Regions from separate parts of the Homo sapiens genome. Here regions 1, 2 and 3 are each linked to region 4. Evidence: promoter capture Hi-C in 16 types of primary human blood cells and fetal thymus (Javierre and others, 2016). All regions are on one chromosome and are shown on one strand. Each heading gives the region's core, a stretch centred on a gene start or on the middle of the fragment in contact. The rest is flanking DNA. Distances are from core to core; before and after follow the strand shown. Region 1 has its middle 6.0 kb from the start of AP3M2. Region 2 overlaps KAT6A (lysine acetyltransferase 6A). Region 3 overlaps KAT6A (lysine acetyltransferase 6A). Region 4 holds the start of THAP1 (THAP domain containing 1).

Region 1 (3,287 bases), core at 785-3,284, 700 kb before region 4:
TGGGTATTATAAAGAATAGAGACAGAATACTTAGGGTGGTAGAGGAAGACAAAGATGGGGGGTAGATTTAGACAAGGTGCTTAATGGAAGACTCCCTGAGAAGGTACCATAAAGGAAGACTTAAAGGAAGAACAGGAGCTTCCAAACAGAGGAAAGAGCATATTCTAGGCCCAGAGCTGAGAGTGGGGGTGAGTGGTGGAGGGGTGTGGCAAGAGATTCAACTGGAGAGATCGAGAGGACAGATAAGTGTTAAAGGTAGTCAGGTGTGGTGGCATGCCTGTAGTCCCATTTACTCAGGAGGCTGAAGCGGGAGTATTGCTTGAGTCCAGGAGTTCAAGGCTGCAATGAGTTATGATCACATCACTGCACTCCAGCCTGGGCAACACAGTGAGACCCTGACTCTAAGCGGGGAAAAAAAAGAAGTAGTAAAGGCATTTTTGATTTAATGCCATGGGAATGCATTGATGGGTTCCAAGCTGCACATAACTGTTTACAGTTTTAAAAGCTCACTTTTGCTGCTGTATAGAAAATGGATTGGAGGGGTGAGAGTAGAAATGGGAGACCAGTATGGCAGCGGTTATCATCTTTCAGGGAAGTGGTGATTGTGGCCTGGACTAAAGTGATGACATTGCATTGGAGAGATTCTGAATTCCTGATGTACATTGAAGATAGAATCCACAGGGTATGCTTCTGATTACATGAGGGGATGAGGGTAATGGAGGACTTGAGGATGACTCATGGGTTTGAGTAGCTGGATGGATGGTGGTATTGTTTACTAAGCTGGGGAAAACAGTTGAGGTTGGAGATACATCGAGAGCTGTCATCATTAAAAGGGTATTACACTCATGAAGCCATCTAGGGAGAGTGCAGAGAAAGAACCGCGGAGCGTCTACTAACAAGCCACAGAATAATGCCATGCCCCTGAGGTGAGGGTGTGGCCTCATGATTGGATATTCTTGTGGCTAATCATCTGGGGAAGGGACCATTTGGTGCAATAATTATGTCCCTCAGGAGACTGGAACCAGGAGGCCAGCCTGAGGCCACCAGGAGAGGGAGGCTGCTGTCTCCTTGTCAGACAAGGTTTGGATTTCAGGAACTCCAGATGGCTTGCCGGGGCTCCTAGGTGAGAGGAGGTACACAGCATCCCTGTCCCCTGGAAGCAGGTGTGCATCCCATAGAGACATCTAAGATGCCCGGATTGGATCACATTTGTGAGCTACATTTTTAGTTGCATGTTACTCTTTCTGCTCACTTCCTTTCTGTTATCTTCAAGTCTTTTTTTTTTTTTTTTTTGAGACTGAGTCTCGTTCTATCACCCAGGCTGGAGTGCAATGGCACGATCTTGGCTCACTGCAAACTCTGCCTTCCAGGTTCAAGCCATTCTCATGCCTCGGCCTCCCGAGTAGCTGGGATTACAGGTGGCCGCCACCATGCCCAGCTAATTTTTGTATTTTTAGTAGAAATGGGTTGGCCAGGCTGGTCTCGAACTCCTGACCTCAAGTGATCCGCCCACCTCTGTCTCCCAAAATGTTGGGATTACAGGCGTGAGCCACTGTGCTCGGCCTATCTTCAAGTCTTTAGACAAGCTTTGGATAAATGTCCATCCTGGTCTCTGCTCTGCTATAGGAAATTAAACAAACAACAAAAAATAGTGTGTCTTAAATGCCATTGAAGAGTTAAAGGGATACTGACCCTCCCAAAACCAGTATGGTGGTGGGAGCTGCAGCCAGCAGTGAGAGGTCCCTAAGGGGAAAGCGGATCTCTTTTTCTAGAGTAGGGCGTCAGGTTCAGTCTCTCCTCTCCACATGGACAGGCTCCTTTCATGGCCAGGCTTAAAGGAGCTGGTTTTTTTTTTTTTTTTTTTTTGAGATGGAGTCTCCCTCTGTGGCCCAGGCTGGAGTGCAGTGGCGTGATCTTGGCTCACTGCAACTTCTGCCTCCTGGGTTCAAGTGATTCTCCTGCCTCAGCCTCCCCGAGTAGCTGGGACTATAGGTGCATGCCACCACACTGGGCTAATTTTTTTTTTTTCTATTTTTAGTAGAGACAAGGTTTCACCATGTTGGCCAGGCTGGTCTCGAACTCTTGACTTCAGGTGATCCACCCGCCTTGGCCTCCCAAAGTGCTGGGATTACAGGTGTGAGCCACGGCGCCCGGCCTGGTTTTGATAAGGGGAGCAGTCTACACTTTAAATCCCCCCTCCACTTGACTGTATGTTCCTTGAAGTAACATAGAGTACCGCATCTTTGTACCCGCAGTGTCCAGGAGGTTGTAAGCACTCCATCACTGTTAGTTTAATAGGTGATTGTTCACTAGACATTGTGAGACACACTGTGGTTTCCCAAAGAGCTTAGAATCCAGATTTGGTCAGCAGATGCACATGTTGATGCATGGCAGAGTGTGCCCGCTCTGTAGGTTACATGAAAGAGCTGGGAAATGCTCTTTGATCACAGAGGAGGGAAACATTACTCCCAGTGTGGGGGCAAGAAGCTTCAAACAGACTTTGTGGAGGAGGAAACATATGGCTGGGCCTTGCGGGCTGGAGCGAATTTCCAAAATAGGATGAGTAAAAGACAAACATGTGCCAGGTAGAGGGCTCCGTGAGAAGGGAGGCATGAGGAGAAGGCATTCCATTGCTTCAGTGCATGACCGGTAGTGAGGTGTGTTGCAAGGAGAGCATACGTGTGAACAGGGAGGAAGTGGCAAAGACGCAGAAATGATGTTGCAGCTCTGAAAAAAATGTCTTTCTGGGTGGGCAAGGCCTCTCTTGTCTCAGACCAAAAATGAAATATAAATAAATAAATAAATAAATGGTTCCCAGTGAATCCTGATAGCTAGGATTAACTTTTTATGGTAGAAAAATTTCTCAGCAGTGAGAGCTGTTAAACATTAGAATGGTTTGTGAGTGGCAGCTTTAGGAAATCTTTCCCTAGAGATTTTTATGCACAAAATAGACTGACTTATCATTTGTCAATGATTTCCTGTGGCCTCTCTTAAAGTCATGGGAAAGTATTACATGAGCTCTCAGATTCTATGTTACTTGATTCAATTCAACAAACACTTGAGTGTCAACTTGGTTCATGCCCCCAGGCATTGCTATATACTGGATTCATGCGCCCTCCCCGCAAGGGGCCTCTCTTCCAGTGATCCCCATCTCAACACATGATGCTTCCATCCATGTCATTGCCCGAATCAGAAACCTACTCTGCCTCACCACTGACATTCCATTAATCCCTAATCCCTATCTTCTCTGGAAGGTGTCCACTTCTCTCTAATCCCTGCCTCATGGC
Region 2 (3,534 bases), core at 742-3,241, 880 kb before region 4:
ATGTGTTTTGGAATTCTGAATTTTTCTGATTTTAGAAAAGTATTAGTACATATATGTGTATAGTACATGCATGTGTATAGCCCTAGTAGGATTTGGAGCAGCACTCCATAATCAGACACACTAAAATTTCTTTAGCAAAGCATATGAATATTCACATTAACTGGCATAAGTAAGGAATACAAATAGTCTCACATCAGCTCAGATCATGTTTTTGTCAGTAACTCAGTTCAGGTCAAGTGGGACTTTATTGCAAAATGAGTTAGAAAAGGCCGGGCGTGGTGGCTCACGCCTGTAATCCCAGCACTCTGGGAGGCTGAGGTGGGCGGATCACGAGGTCAGGAGATCGAGACCATCCTGGCTAACAAGGTGAAACCCCATCTCTACTAAAAATACAAAAAATTAGCTGAGGAGCTTGGTGGCGGGCACCTGTAGTCCCAGCTACTCAGAGGCTGAGGCAGGAGAATGGGGTGAACCCAGGAGGCAGAGCTTGCAATGAGCCCAGATCGCGCCACTGCACTCCAGCCTGGGTGACAGAGCCAGACTGTCTCGAAAAAAAAAAAAAAAAAAAAAGTTGGAAAAGTTTCTTTCCATTCTCCAAAGAAGATATACAGATGGCCAATAAGCTCATGAAAAGATGCTCAACATCACTAATAATTAGGAAAATGTAAATCAAACCACAATCAGATACTACTTCACACCCATTAGGATGGTTATTATTTTTAAATGCAAAACACCAGAAAATAACAGATGTTGGTGAAGATGTGGAAAAATCAGAACCCTTGTCCCATTGCTGGCGGGAATACAAAATGGCACAGCTGCTGTGGAAAACAGTATGATGGTTCCTCAAAAAAGTAAACAGAATTACCACATAATCTAGCAATTCCACTGCTGATTATAGACCCCACAGAACTGAAAGCAGTTCTTTGTATATGGGTATCTATTTGCATACTCATGTTCATAGCAGCACTATTTACAACCCAAGTATCCACTGACAGATGAATGGATAAACCAAATGTGGTACATACGTACAATGGAATATTCTCCAGCCTTAAAAAGGAAGGCAATGGTTGGGCGCTGGTGGCTCACGCCTGTAATCCCAGCACTCTGGGAGGCCAAGGTGGGCAGATCATGAGGTCAAGAGATTGAGACCATCCTGGCCAACGTGGTGAAACCCCGTCTCTACTAAAAATACAATAATTAGCTGGGTGTATGGCACATGCCTGTAGTCCCAGCTACTCGGGAGGCTGAGGCAGAAGAAACACTTGAACCCGGGAGGCAGAGGTTGCAGTGAGCCAAGATCGCGCAACTGCACTCCAGCCTGGGCAACAGTGCAAGACTCTGTCTTTAAAGAAAAAAAAAAAAAATACAAGGAAGGCAATTCTGACACAGGCTAAAATACATATGAACCTTGGGGACATTATGCTAAGTGAAACAGCCAGACACAAAAGGACAAATATTGTATAATTCTACTTATGGTACCTAGAGTAGACAAATTAATAAAGGCAGAAGACAGAATGATGCTTACCAGGGGTGGGGGTAGGGGTGGGGGGTTGGGAGTTGTTTAATGGGTACAGAGTTCCAGTTTTGCAAGATAAAAAAGTTCTGGAAATAGATGATGGTGATGATTGCACAACAAGGTGAATGTCTTTAATGCCACTGAATTGTACACTTAAAAATGGTCTGGTTAGGCCGGGCGCAGTGGCTCATGCCTGTAATCCCAGCACTTTGGGAGGCCAAGGCCGGCGGATCACGATCGAGACCATCCTGGCTAGCAAGGTGAAACCCCGTCTCTACTAAAAATACAAAGAATGGCGAGAACCCGGGAGGCGGAGCTTGCAGTGAGCCAAGATGACGCCGCTGTACTCCAGCCTGGGTGACAGAGTAAGACTCCGTCTCAAAAAAAAAAAAAAAAAAAAGTCTGGTTAAAATAACTTTTACATTATGTATATTTTACCACAATTATTTTTTTTCAAATTTTCAGGACTCCTTAAATTTCAGGATTCTGGATATTGTGACCTATCTTTCCCTTTTCCTAAGCCTTTTTGCTCTACACTCAGACTTCTCTTTATCCATCTCCTTTGCTAATTCTTTTACCATTAAATATTGACAAAATCTAGAATTCTGTCCTCGGCCATCTTACCTTTTCCATCCGGAGGACCCATAATCCAGTGCTTCCATCAGCTTTCCACTCTCCCCACACCCTCCTTTCTCTCTACGCAGCTTAGATTCTAAGGTCTTTTTCCCTGTAATTCCACCCTTTGCATAGACCTTTAACTCTCTAGTTTCTCTTCTAATTTCACAACAAAATCCTAACCCCTGTTAAATTCAACTCTTCACATAATCGAAGTTATTACCTTAATGTGAATATGGGTGGAGAAAAACAGAGAATCATGCTACCCAGTCTCACATTATACACCTACCCACAAACCTCAAGCAGGTCCTGATGCTTCCTACTCCATTCACTCTCCCGTTCTGAAAGACAACTGCACCCTTTCTCCTCTGCTCAAGCCTCCAACACTGCTTACTCCACCTTCACTTTCAGCCAATGCTTTTGCTTCCTACTGCACTAAACTGGACAAAATCAAAAGAAAACTTCTGCAATTTTTCCCACCCACATCTGTCTGCCTCCACCTTTGTGCCACACATCCTGCCTTTCACCAATACTATGGCTAAAGATTGAGCTCCTAAGCCCACGGCTTCCGTTTGTGCATGAGATAACATCTTCCTGCTCCCTAGCCAAAGAACATCACCCAGCAGTTCCCCTCCTATCTTCTGCATCATCAGCTTTCCCTCTACCAGAGCATTCCATCAGCATACAAACAGCTGTTATTCATTCCATATTTTAAAAAGGGGGAGAGGGGTGTGTGGGCATGGTGGCTCACCCCTGTAATCCTAACACTTTGGGAGGCCAAGGTGGGCGGGTCACAAGGTCAAGAGATCGAGACCATCCTGGCCAACATGGTGAAACCCTGTCCCTACTAAAAATAGAAAAATTAGTTGGGAGTGGTGGCGCACACCTGTAGTACCAGCTACTCGGGAGGCTGAGGCAGGAGAATCCCTTGAACCCGGGACGTGGCGGTTGCAATGAGCCGAGATGGTGCCACTGCACTCCAGCCTGGTGACAGAGCGAGACTCCATCTCAAAAAAAAAAAAAAAAAAAAAAGTATCTTCTTTAGCCCTCACAGCTCTATCCAACTCTCCCTTTCTCTGCTCCTAATTACTGTAAAAAACCTCAAAACAATGGCCACATATTACTACTATAACCAATTTCTCCTTCCATTCTTTCTTGAAACCACTCCAATTATCTCTTCACCCTCCCCTGTCCCCATCATGGAAACAGTTTCTCAAGATTACTTCCTTGTTGCTAAGCTGGACAGTCAATTTTCAGTTCTCTTCTTACTTGGCCTATTTGCAGAATTTAAAAACTGATCCTTCCTTCTTACAACACATTCTTCACTTAGCTTCTAAGGAACTACACCTTCATGTTTTTTTTCCTACTTCACTGGCCATTCCTTCTCAGTTTCTCCAATCTCT
Region 3 (3,172 bases), core at 489-2,988, 810 kb before region 4:
AAAACTGTCCACAAGAGCAGTTTCAAATAGTGCTGCTCTAGGGCCAAAAGCCAGATTGCAGCAGACGTGGAATGAATATAGACTTTTTTCAAGAAGTTTAAAAATGAATGGAAACAGACAGGGTATACATAGAAAGAAGGATCTGCAGTGGTTTTTTGGTTGTTTTTACTCTAACGGGAGAGTCTTCTGCCTGCTAAGGACTAAAAAGTGAGCGAGAAAGATGATAGAGTCAAAAAATGGGACTATTTTTGATGGCACACGGCCCCTGAGGTAGCAGAGAATGGGGTCCTGAAAAAGAATGGAGAGATGAGCCTTTCACACTTCTTTCACTGTCCTATGACAAGGTAGCAAAGCGGGCAGAAATAAGCACAGATGTATTTAGGATGGCATGAGAGGGGTATAAACTCAATGAGCTCAATTGGACAGATTCCATTATCTCTATGATGTAGCATATGGGAGTATCTACTGAAAATGAGAAAAAAAGGTGGGAAGAAATACTGAATTTCTGCAGACAGAACAGACTATACACAGACATACATCTTCAAGCAGAGGGCAGAGCTCAGATTGGAGGCCACAAATTTGTAAGTGGCATCCCACCACATGGTCATGAGATTTTCCCCAAAGTTAAAGCAGAGAGGTTGGGCACGATGGCTCATGCCTGTAATCCCAGCACTTTGGGAGGCCAAGGTGGGCAGATCACCTGAGGTCAGGAGTTCAAGACCAGCCTAGCCAACATGATGAAACCCCGTCTCCACTAAAAAAATACAAAAATTAGCCAGGGGTGGTAGCAGGCACCTGTAATCCCAGCTGCTTGGGAGGCTGAGGCAGAAGAATCGCTTGAACCCAGGAGATGGAGGTTGCAGTGAGCAGAGATCGCACCACTGCACTCCAGCCTGGGTGACAGAGCAAGACTCCAACTCAAAAAAAAAAGGAGAAGGTGGTAAATGGCTGGAGTTTGCCAACATGATGCAGGAGTAGTGAGTGAGTGAGAATGTGCCATAAGGCCAAGCAATGAGAACAGCATTAGAGTGATGGCAGGGCACCTGTCGGAATCATGCAGGTAACTTTCTCGCAACTATATACCACACAAGATCTTCTTGAGATAAAGCAGTGAGGGTAAGGAGAAAGAAAGGTGGAAGATTAGAGTAGTTATAGCCAGGGAGGACAATAAAACAGAATGTACATTTCCAGAAGTACACTGTCCTGGGTCCAAAGTGTGTTCATGAGGGTGTGTGTGAAGCATGCTATTTCATCATTTGTTTGAATGTCAATTATGAGGTTAAAAAGTACCTGCTTCTTCTGTCTTCTGACTCTCTTAGCCAGTCCCCACTACAGAGATGTTGGTTCTAAGCATTAGAGCAATGGTTCTCAACCCCAGCTGCACATCAGATAAACATTCTTAAAAAAATAAAAAATAAAAAAAACTGAAACCTGGGCCTCACTACTAGTCAAATTTAATTAGTTTGGTATTTATTTTTTAAGCTTCCTCAGGTAATGCTAAAGTGAATTTAGTGCCAAGTACCACTGCTTTCCAAAGAATAAGGCTTTGGATTTATGTTACAGAATTAAAGAAAAACTGAGTGGCATGGAAAAAAGTAAGGCAGGAAAATGGTGAAAGAGGGTTTAAATAGTAAGTTAGATATTTAAAGATGCCCTGAATAGAAAAATTGGGAAACTATTAAAGTACAGAATCACACTCCACACACAAAAATAGTAATAATGTTTCTGAGAGTTCTGTTAAAGGTTCTAGAAAACTCAGGAGTTAAATGCTTCACTGTACCCAATGACTAAGAAAAAAGGAACCTAGACTTTACTAAGCTCAAAGAATTAAAAACCAACACTTAGCAGCTCTTCAGGTCAACTACAGTTCACAATTCCCTGGAGGAAAACGCAGCCCATAGTACAAGTCTGACAACACCTCTAGATCTGCGGAATCACCTATTCTACATAAAAGGTAAACGGCAAAAGAAGCAACTATCTTCTTTAACACATTGAAAGCTTTTTTTTTTTTTTTGGCTGCCAGATTTTATTTCCACACCAGTTATCTTCTTCTTAACAAGTTACACCTATAATCTTAAAATCGCCCAGTTATTTTACAAACATCTGTCCTCAATCTTAATCTTTATTTGCCACTATCCTAATGTACTTGCTAAGTTTTACAGCAAAGCAGAAGTGATGCAGAGATGAAGTGTTAGTCATAAAGACCAATAAAGACAAAAAATGATGTGCTGTCTGCGGTCTTCCCCACACGGTCTGTTTACAAGTAACATTACAAATCTCTCAAGCTCCTCCCAGACACTATGTTTATAGAAGTGCTAGACTATACACTTTTGGTCCACCCATATTTAATGTCTTTGGTAAAAATTACTTCATTAATTAATAGAAAGGTTTGTACCTTGCTATCTCTAGCTCAGTCTCAAGAATTTTAAATTCTAACCAATGATCCAAGTCACTCAGAGGTCATTTGTGTTGCAGACCTACTGAAAATTAGACTTACCTTTAAATGGACTTTTTTTCCCAAAACTCAAGGAGTACTTTTTCTTCCAGCATTAAGGTAGCTCAACATGTTCCCCTTCTAATATTTAGCCAACAACATAAGAAAACCTTGATTCCTCTAACTTGGGCCATAAGAAAGCAGTCTTTTCCCAAAAAGTTGTTTCAAAACTCTAACAAGAGTGTATAGCTATTTTCACACACTGAAATAGCAGATTTATATATTTGTGGTTTACGATACCACCAATATTCTCTAGACAAGGTTTATTCTATGGTTTCCATTAAGGAAGAGAATTCTAACTAAATTATTTTAGGCTCACTGCTCTCTAATACTATAAAGCAGTACTACAGCATAATGAAAAAAGCACAAAATTGAGAAGGGCCTGACCAATTCTTCCAGATGGTATTAACTGGCTGTGTGGCACTGGACAAGACACTTCAACCTCTTTGGCTCTCAAATTTCCCTATTATTTGTGAAATCAGATTAGAATCACTGTGATCCAAGATTGCTACTGGCTGAACATTCTACACAATGCAGAAGATACAAGTCTTTTTTTCTAATAATCTATGTTTCGTAAGCATAATACAATTCAACCATAAAAGATACCTCAATCAACACTACAGCCAGACTTACTTTTCCTTAGCAGTCTTTTTTTTTCTTTAAATTGCTGACAGTTAA
Region 4 (3,582 bases), core at 161-2,660:
CACATGATATCAAACATATTTAAAAAATGCATGGACACTCCCCTAGTAAACACAGATGGCCCCACAGCAAAAAAATAAATTAACTGAAAAGATATTTAACATTTTGCTTTTGTAATTATTTACCTAATTATAAAAGATAATTAGCTAATTACCTATGGCTAATCTGTATAGTTTACCCCTGGATCTGATTTCTTACCTATCATCTGCGTATAGCTGTCAGGAATTCTTGCAAAGAAAACTTAACATAAATGTAATTAAAATTTGTAAACAAATTCAGCTGAATGAAAATGTTATGTCACATTTTACAAGCGTTTATCATAAGTAATTACAACTCTGCACTTTTTTCCTATTTTCAAGAGAATATTTTTGATCCTATCACTTAACTGTGCTACCTACTGGATAAGACAGCTCTGAAAGCTGTGGGGCAGTTTCTTTCGAAAGAGCTTTCTCTATGCACAGGTAATGCCATAATAAATAAAGATCCGTGTGAGTCATTTTATTATGATCCATGTTGTAACTGTCCATATTATCATTATTGTGTGCTGAAAAGATAACGATTTATCTCGGCAGTACCTGAAGCTTTCTCCAAAATACAGGGTCCTTAAAGCTTAGTTCCTAGAGATTGGGGGCAAAAATTCTCCCTGATTTCCCAGCCAAAAAACCCTTAATTGCTACGATGCTGGCCTCCCATCCACGGCAAGGGCGAAAAGTAGTGATTTCTTCGTTTAAAGGCCTTTGTTTCTATTTTAAATTTACCCCTAAGACCATATTAAAACACCTGGCTGCTCTGTGACCCTGGTGGTGGCAAAACCCGCGCCACCCTAGGCATCGCCCGTGGGCTCCGAACGCGTCAACCCAGGCCGTGAGCGAAGCCTGCAACCAGGGCCTGTTCCAGGAGCGCGAGAAACGGCTGCCGCGGCGACGCGCGCCGAGAACGCGCGATCGGGCGGCGGTTCCCAGCGGGACGCGGTGGGAAACGCCCGACACGGCCGGCCCCAGACCCCACCCGCCCCTCGCGCGGACACGCGCCTGGCTCCGCCCCCGGCCCCGCCGGCCGCGCGCCCCCACCCCGGCTGAGACCGGCCCCGCGAGGCGCGCAGGGTCCTCACTTGTGGAAAGAAACGGGCTTGTCCTTGTCGTAGCGGTTCTTGCAGCCGTAGGCGGAGCAGGACTGCACCATCCTTCCGGTCCTCAGGCACTTCACTTCTGCCGCCGCAGAAGGCAGGGGAAGCTGTTCTCAGTGTCGCTGCGCTCGGTTGGATTCCCTCGCTTCTTTTGTAGCTTTGGCCAACAGTTACAGTGATGGTGGCCTCCCTCGGGGGTGACTAGTGTGCCCGTTTTGTTGTTTGCATTAGCAGAAGGACCACAGCCATCGCCCGTCTCCCATCTCCAAGATGGCGGAGGCAGCTTCAACCTCACCTCTCGCGAGGGGTGCGTCCCACTGTCTCTGATTAGCCCCGAGGTCAGAGGTAACGTTTCCTGGGAAGCTAACTATTGGCTGAGGCCAGGTGTTTCCGGCGGTGGCTTCAGAGTTGCCGAAGTGGGCGGAGCCCTGAGCTTCCGGCAGGCAGGAAGGAACTGCTTGTGGGGGGAGGAGGCGCGGCGGGAGGCCGGATTCCTGGGGCATCCTCCAGCCCCGGGCTGTTCCCGTGGGTTAATTGATGCGGACCTTTTCTGGGGCAGCTTACAGTAGGGAACAACTAGGGCCTCTTGGAGAACAGGTGTAAAGCCGAGGTCGTTGGCTGATTGCGCCCATTTCTTTAAAAGGGCGGACACAGATGGTGTATGATTAATAAAATTGTGGAACCTTTTCCCAGAGTGCTAATCTTTATCCCATTACCTGTGTCTTCAGGTATCACAAGTTTCTGTGAGAGCCAACGTGACAGATTTTTAGCAATGAAAAAAGACACACTCGCCAAATCATCTCAATTGCCAACGCAGAAGCGTTTTATATATATGTATGTATATGTATGTATATATGTGTGTATGTATATATGTGTGTGTGTATGTATATATATATATATATATGTAATTTTTTAAATAAATAGAGGCGTTGTCTCCCCACGTTGCCCAGGTCAGTCTGGAACTCGAGCTCAAGGGATCCTCCCATCTCGACCTCCCCATGGGTTGGGATTACAGGAGTTGAGCCACCAGGCTGTCCCTCCCCAGAAGCTTTTCTGAAGGCTCTCCATTGCTGTGATTTCCATGTGCTGTGTTGCAAATAGCGAACTGCTGCAGCAATTTTCACACCTGAGAGAGAATATGTTAGAGGGGTTCGAACTAGAGCGACTCTGTGTTGAGTGAGGGCTAGGAAAATGAGGCTGGGACTTGCTGGGCTGCATTCCCGGGAAGTTAGGTATTCCTAGCCTCTAGATGTGTATACCATTAAGGCAACAGATTGATAATGTTTACTACACAGACCCAGACTACCAAGTGTCCAGATATCCCGATATTTTGAGAACAGAAGCATTCCTAATTTTGCTTTAAAGATAATAATATTGGGCTGGGCACAGTGCCTCACGCCTGTAATCCCAGCACTTTGGAAGGCCGAGGCGGGCGGATCACTTGAGGTCAGGAGTTCAAGACTAGCCTGGTCAACATGGTGAAAACGTCTCTACTAAAAATACAAAAATTAACCGGGTGTGGTGGCACATGCCCTCGAATTTCAGCTACTCTGGAGGCTGAGGCAGGATAATCGCTTGAATCCGGGAGGCGGGGGTTGCAGTGAGCCGTGCTTGCACCACTGCACTCCAGCCTGGGCGACAGAGTAAGACTCTGTCTCATAAATAAAGATAATATCGATTCTTACATAATATAGTAATTAATCCTTTATCACAAACCCTTGTAGCAAAGCACATCTCCCCATGATCTTTTTTTATCCTATATATAAACTAAGTGTTGTACTTAGGGTGGACGCGTTCCTCCTCTTACTTTCGGGAATGCCCTACTCTGTCTGTGGAGTAGCTGTACTTTCACCACTTTACGTTCTTAATAAACTTGCTTTTGCTTTGTACTGTGGACTTGCCCTGAATTCTGTCTTGCGTGAGATCCAAGAACCCTGTCTTGGGGTCTGGATTGGGACCCCTTTCCTGTAACAGTTTTACTTCATTCCCTGCTCCTTTTCTTTATATAGATCTGAGCCAGGCAGACCTGGAGAGCGGACTGTTGAGTAATCCCTTGGCCCTTATTCTCTACCTTTCCTGCCCTTTTAAATGTTGCTGTTTCCCCAGGGTTCCATCTTCTGCCCTCCTCTAACTCCTAAACACCCTGCTCCTTAAACTGAACCAAATACCATAATTCTCTCATCTTTTATTTCCTTTGTATATCCGTTCTGCCTTTGGGATTATCATCTGTGAATTATCATCTGTGAATTATCTGTTCAACAGTTGTCTAAACCAGAAACCTTGGAGTCATCTTGGATTTTTTTTGTCACCCATAAAACCCGTTGATGACCAGGTTAATTTTGTAGACTAAATAAATAAATGCCCCTTAAATCCATCCCTCTTCATGTCTCCTCACTGTTGTTGTTGTTTTTTTTTTTGTTTTTTTTTTTGAGAGGGAGTCTCACTCTGTCGCTCAGTC

The links. The method cuts DNA at HindIII sites, captures the fragments that hold promoters and counts their contacts. A CHiCAGO score of 5 or more calls a contact.
Region 1: a fragment that was not itself captured here is called in contact with the fragment with the promoter of THAP1 in region 4 in 1 of 17 cell types (fetal thymus); the score reaches 8.1 in fetal thymus.
Region 2: a fragment that was not itself captured here is called in contact with the fragment with the promoter of THAP1 in region 4 in 1 of 17 cell types (activated CD4 T cells); the score reaches 5.5 in activated CD4 T cells.
Region 3: a contact is called between a fragment that was not itself captured here and the fragment with the promoter of THAP1 in region 4, in 2 of 17 cell types (total CD8 T cells and monocytes). The highest score is 6.8, in total CD8 T cells.

Annotation. Positions count from the first base shown.
Region 1 is chr8:42,145,445-42,148,731 of GRCh38, forward strand. No RefSeq gene overlaps it. Among named protein-coding and RNA genes, the nearest start is that of AP3M2, 6.0 kb to the right of the region's middle. The HindIII fragment of the contact is 901 bases long and covers 1,585-2,485 here.
Region 2 is chr8:41,958,611-41,962,144 of GRCh38, forward strand. The region is part of intron 8 of KAT6A (lysine acetyltransferase 6A); the gene reads right to left. Among named protein-coding and RNA genes, the nearest start is that of KAT6A-AS1, 91 kb to the right of the region's middle. The HindIII fragment of the contact is 5,570 bases long and covers 1-3,534 here.
Region 3 is chr8:42,035,693-42,038,864 of GRCh38, forward strand. All of the region lies in intron 2 of KAT6A (lysine acetyltransferase 6A), which reads right to left. Among named protein-coding and RNA genes, the nearest start is that of KAT6A-AS1, 14 kb to the right of the region's middle. The HindIII fragment of the contact is 516 bases long and covers 1,481-1,996 here.
Region 4 is chr8:42,841,915-42,845,496 of GRCh38, forward strand. It overlaps THAP1 (THAP domain containing 1), which reads right to left and starts at 1,411. Exons shown (of 3, transcript NM_018105.3): 1 at 1,110-1,411. The coding sequence starts at 1,180. LOC124901940 (a long non-coding RNA gene) reads left to right here and starts at 1,020. Exons shown (of 2, transcript XR_007060901.1): 1 at 1,020-1,469; 2 at 1,853-3,498. RefSeq lists enhancers at 1,004-1,794, 1,130-1,489 and a silencer at 1,010-1,099. The HindIII fragment of the contact is 1,565 bases long and covers 606-2,170 here.